Regions from separate parts of the Homo sapiens genome. Here region 2 is linked to region 1. Evidence: promoter capture Hi-C in 16 types of primary human blood cells and fetal thymus (Javierre and others, 2016). All regions are on one chromosome and are shown on one strand. The core of a region is centred on a gene start or on the middle of the fragment in contact, and the rest is flanking DNA. Distances in the headings are between cores, read along the strand shown.

Evidence for each region. The method cuts DNA at HindIII sites, captures the fragments that hold promoters and counts their contacts. A CHiCAGO score of 5 or more calls a contact.
Region 2: a contact is called between a fragment that was not itself captured here and the fragment with the promoter of ABHD4 in region 1, in 4 of 17 cell types (M0 macrophages, M1 macrophages, megakaryocytes and 1 more). The highest score is 7.0, in M0 macrophages.

The regions. Positions count from the first base shown.
Region 1 is chr14:22,596,986-22,599,685 of GRCh38, reverse strand. It overlaps ABHD4 (abhydrolase domain containing 4, N-acyl phospholipase B), which reads right to left and starts at 1,386. Exons shown (of 7, transcript NM_022060.3): 1 at 1,357-1,386. The coding sequence starts at 1,379. RefSeq lists an enhancer at 1,152-1,391 and a silencer at 1,502-1,701. The HindIII fragment of the contact is 5,320 bases long and covers 1,036-2,700 here.
Region 2 is chr14:22,648,493-22,651,192 of GRCh38, reverse strand. No RefSeq gene overlaps it. Among named protein-coding and RNA genes, the nearest start is that of OR6J1, 5.5 kb to the right of the region's middle. RefSeq lists an enhancer at 1-9. The HindIII fragment of the contact is 5,780 bases long and covers 1-2,700 here.

The sequences.
Region 1 (2,700 bases), core at 137-2,636:
GCAGAGTTCAGGAGAAACGCTACCCAAGGAACAGCATCATAGACTGCTCAGCAGAGAGTCCTTGGTGGGAGAATTACTTTGCTTTCCTTCTTCACCAAAAATGTTACAAGTAAACACTGGAAATGGTGCCTGGCACACTGTATGTGCTCAAAACTATGCGGGAGGTAAGGGCTGGAGTGGGAAATTGAGGCAAGGAGCAGAAAAGACATTCAGCCATGAACTTAACCTGGCTAGGACGGTCTCTGTCAACTTGATGGGGGTGAAGCACAAGGGGTTCTGTGCTGGGAGAGAATCCTGTTCTAGACCTCTGTGATCTTGGGCAAGTCTCCTAATTTCTATGGACACCAGCTTCTTCATTTTTAAAAAGGAGCTGAACTACCTGCATGTCCTCCAGCTCTAATATTCTGCCTCCCTAAGTCCTTTAAAGCATTGCAAATTTCCTCTTGGAAAAGTCATCTTAGAAAGTAAAACATTCCCCTGGACATTTCTTTCAAGCCCAGCAAGCTATTAATTATGGTCATAAAGTTAATTAGTTCCCCGGACTTCCAGTTCTACAGGTCTGAAAAACAGGATTACTGGGTCCAGGAAAGGCCCAGTTCTGGTGAAACCAAGGCTCGGCTGGGAGCTGAGTCATTCTTCTCGTAGCAACTTTTTCTTACTCCTATCAGATTGCGAACTGCTAGTCACACCACCTACAGGTGGTATCCCAAACCTGATGCCCTTGAAAGAGTGGTAGCAAATCCCAATAGCTCTAAATCTGAAACCATTGCATTAAAGATGTTGTTACGATTATTAAAAGCATTATCAACTAGGATCACATGCGGCTACGTGTCTCGGTGGGCGACAGCTAAAGAAACTTGCAAGCCCGTTGTTCCACACCAATTTCAGCGCGATGGAGACCTCTCCAGTCTCTCCACATCTTCTCTTTGCCGGGCGGAGGGAGGAGGCTCTCTCCATCCCCACGACTGCCGTTCTGGGGGGCAAGTCGAGACGAGCACGCCTGGCTGCTACCTCCGCACCCGCGTCCCACAAGCTTGCTTTCGGGGATCTCACACATCAACATGGAATCTCTCCAGAGGCCAGAGGAGAATGAGGGGCACTCGCGAGGACTAAGGTAGAAAGCCAGGATCCCCGGGCTGCGGGCGAGCGCGTCTCCCATGGCTCCCCAGGCTCAGCCGCTGCCTCTTCTGGGCAAATGCAAAGCAAGCAACGCACCCACCCCCCGCCCTCCCCGGAGGCCGACCTGGAAAAGGAAGAGCGGGAAGGTGTCTACAACTGTTCCTCAGCCACAGACAGTCCCAGGATCATGGCCCAGAGAGAGAGAGAGAAAGAGAGAAAGGGACAGGATTAACTCACTGCTGCTCCAGATCATCGGCCATAGTAAACAAGCCTTGCCAGGTCCTGGCGAGCCCGCCCAGCGCCTGACGCCAGCACCAGCTGACCCGGGAGGCCGCGGGGAGCAAGGGGGCGTGGCCGCGCAGGGGGCAGGGCTCGCGGCGGGCCGGCGGTCGGCGGTGGGACCCTCAAAACTCTGCAACTTGGTTTCAGCTAGTGGGGCCCTTGCTGTGTTTTCAATCACTGGCATGTGTCCCGGCAGAGATGTCTCTGACGGTCTCAGAATGGGACAGTAATCCTGGTCACACATTTGGGGGAGTCCTTGCAGGAGCTCCGACAGCCCTCCCTTCTCTCATAACTAAAAAGTGGTAGAACTACGCCTGCACGCTCGCACCCACTCTTTGGGCTTCCCATTGTAACTGTGTCCTCCTGAAATCGACCCTTGTTAATGTTCCTTCTAGTAAGAGGCTTAAATGTTTGTGGAGACAACGCCATTGGTTGAATGCTCCTACAAAGGGCCTGGATGCCAGATTTCGAAACTAAAATACAGGACACCTAGTTAAATGTAAATTCCAGATTTAAATAAAGCAAATACTTTTTTAGAATAAGTATGGGCCATGCAGTATTTGGGACATAAGTAGGCATCCTGTATTTTCTCTGGCAAACCTAAACCTATATGACATCTGCCAAAATGGGCATATCTCTGCTCTGATGTTGACTCTGACCCCAACCTATTTTCCAGGGAAAATATAGCTCAACTCCAGGTCACCCTCAGTTTGGAGGATAACAGTTGAAGGACTCACCAATAAGGCTAGGTCTCCTTTCGGTATGTAAATGCGGGGACAGGGAGATAAGGCTGGCTTGGCCCAGAGGTCCTGAGTGCACTTCAGTTTGCTCAGCAGAGGAGCTAAATCTTGAGGCTGGCTGCTGAATTTGCTTGTACCGGTAAACAGGGCCTGACCTCCCTGGAACTGTCAGATTTCAGATCATCCCCTTAGTTAAAACCAGACTAGGGGTGGGGCGCGGTGGCTCACGCCTGTAATCCCTGCACCTTGGGAGGCCAAAGTGGGTGGATCACTTGCAGTCAGTAGTTCGAGACCAGTCTGGCCAACATGGTGAAACCCCATCTCTTACTAAAAATACAAAAAATTAGCCAGGTGTGGTAGCAGGCACCTGTAATCCTAGCTACTGGGGAGGCTGCGGCAGGGAGAATTGCTTGAACCCAGGAGGCGGAGGTTGCAGTGAGCCAAAATTGTGACACTGCACTCCAGCCTGAGAGACAGAGTGAGACTCCATCTCAAAAACCAAAAACAAACAAGCAAACAAACAAAAAAAACCAGACTGGGGAGTGGTGGAGGATGGGTG
Region 2 (2,700 bases), core at 191-2,690, 51 kb before region 1:
AAGTATTAGAGGCATTCATGGAAGAGGTCCACCAGTATCACATGCCCACATGCTCACTGATTCTCTACACTGCCAGGATCGCAGACATACAGTGTACTTAAGGAGCTGTGCCTGAACACAGCTCACCAGTTCAGAGTCCTTCTTCCCTTGTGGTGAGTTCCTTCTTAGAGGCTCCATAATCCTTTTCTGTAACCTAACCTCAGACTACGGGCACTTGCATACATCAGACCTATTTTTATGTTCTTGAATCTAAATGAGGATCAACGTTCCAGTCCTTTTTTTTTTTTTCCAGTCCGTTTTTACCCCTGGGAGAATCCTGATTTTTAACATAATTTGGTATATGCAAATAGATATAAAGGGACTCTTCTTATCTCTATTTGCTGTGGAAATAGAGGCACTAATGTAAGCAGATATTCTGAGGGGTGGGTTCAGGAAGCATGCCAGTGGTGCGAGGCTGGGGATGGATGTTTTCTGCTCTTCTCAGCCACACTGGAACCCCAGTTCTTGCCTAGCCAAAATATGCTGCTAGTCTTGCTTAGCAATAGACACTTAGCCTTAAAAATTTTTTATCCAATGACTTTTCCTTCGCTCTCATGTTTCATAACCTTTTCCTAGTTTCTGGCACTGCTGACATACCTACGTCTTGGATTTCTCCTCCCCTGCTTGCTAATCCTGTACCACTGGCTTTCTGTTGGTTTGCTTTCTCACTACTCTTTCTCTTGTTCCCAGTGGTGACTCCTTCTCCTGCCTTTTAACTGAAGGCTTTCACCGAGGCTCTATTCCCATTTTCTGAGATGAGGGCTCACTATGTTGCCCAGGCTGGTCTCAAACTCCTGGGCTCAAGGGATCCTCCGGGCACAGTCTCCTCAGTAGCTGGGATAACAGGCATGAACCACAGCACCCGGCCCTTTTTTTCCTTTTCTACATAGACTTCTCCAGAGTATTAGGTTTCCTATCTATTTGCTTACTTACTCACCCACTCCTTATTCACTTTTTTATTGAGTTTCTCTCATGTCTTTGTTATGATATTGGGCGTAGGGAATACCACGAAGAATAAAACCTAGTTTCTACCTTCAGGGAGTCATATAAATGGATAAGGCATAGCCTGAGCCAGTACCTGGCTCTTTCTACTCATAGTCTGGTGGTACTCATTGCCCTGTATTGAAAGGCTAAGTCTTGATTTTAATCTCACATCTTCCATGAATCCTGTGCCTGTACCACTAGCTTTCATTGATTTTCTTCTCTATACTGCTCTGGTCAAGAAAGCTGGAGTTTTTGCCTTCAAAGTTTTGTTACCTTGGGTGATTCATTTGACCTGTGTTAGACTTAACACCCTTCTGTGACATGAGGAGGTTATAGAACTAGGGTCCTTCCATCTTCAAAATTCTATTCCTATGATCATATACAATTGTGGGGAGGGGGAGATGGCTAATATAAAACATCAATTATATAGTGGAACTAGTACTTAAAAAAAAACCAACTTATGAATGACATCCTCATGAGAGTTGCTAGTACATCATAAAATTGTTGGTTGGGCCTAAAACATATTCATCCTTGTCGCCTATTATAATTAGCCAGTTGCCAGACCCATTACCATGCTCAAGTAAGGGAAGGCAGACATGAGAGTGGCTGGAGTTAAAGCAGAATAAGGTTGACAGCCTTAAACTTTCTGGAAGTATTGTCCTTGTACAGAAATTGTCCAAAGGTCATTGACCTTTAAAGTGAATTTTTGCCTTAATCTATAAATTTATAAATGTCATTTATGTTAAATAAATTTCTGTAGAGCAAAAGTTTGTTTGGATCTTAAAAATAACTTTCTGATTAGAAATGTGATGTATGAACACTATTTTCTTACTCATTGATACTTTGAATTTAAAAAACAGAGGCTTACTCAAGCTAGTTGACTAAAGTCTTGTGTGTATGTGAGTGTGTGTGTGTATGTGTAAGATTGTAGAAAGAATACATCAGGCAGTCTCTCATGGGCATCCAAGAGTAGGAACAAGGCACACAGGGATTGGAACAAGAAAGTCAGCAGCTCAGGCTGCCACCATCCTTTCCGGTGGGCCCGTGTTCCCTCAGTCATTACTTGTCTCTGAGTCTAAGCTACTGTTACACTTCTCTTTGAAACAAGGTCTCTACTATCACTGATGGTTTATTTGCTCCCCTATGACTTCAGCTTAGGAATCACTTTGGTTTGCTATGGCACCTACTCCAGCCCCAACTCTACACAACTTTTCAGAAAAGTACCCACCAGCGTCTTACTAATTAGTCTCTGTGTTTGTTAGAGCTCTTATGACTGCAGAAGACCATAATTCAAATGAACTTAAGAAAAACGGAGGATTTTTTGGCTTGTACAATCAGAAAGGATATTGTTGGCAGGCCTCAGGCATGACTGATCCAGTCATACACAACAGTGTCCAAATTCTATCTCTGTCTCTTAGCTGCATTTCCATTGGTGTGTTGTCCTCATGAATCCAGACAGCAGAAAGGCTCTCTCCGTGCAACAGTGGAAGGGTGAGGCTGGGTGTAGATCTACTGGCAGCTCAGGGTTACATCATCACAGCTTTTGAGCCCAGAGGAGAGAGCTTTTCCTAACTCTGCTCCAACATATGGATTCTAAAGGAGGGATTCCTGGCCTGCCTTGGGTTGGATGGTCACTCTTTGGATCAGTCACTGTGGTTGGGTGATGGATATTATAAT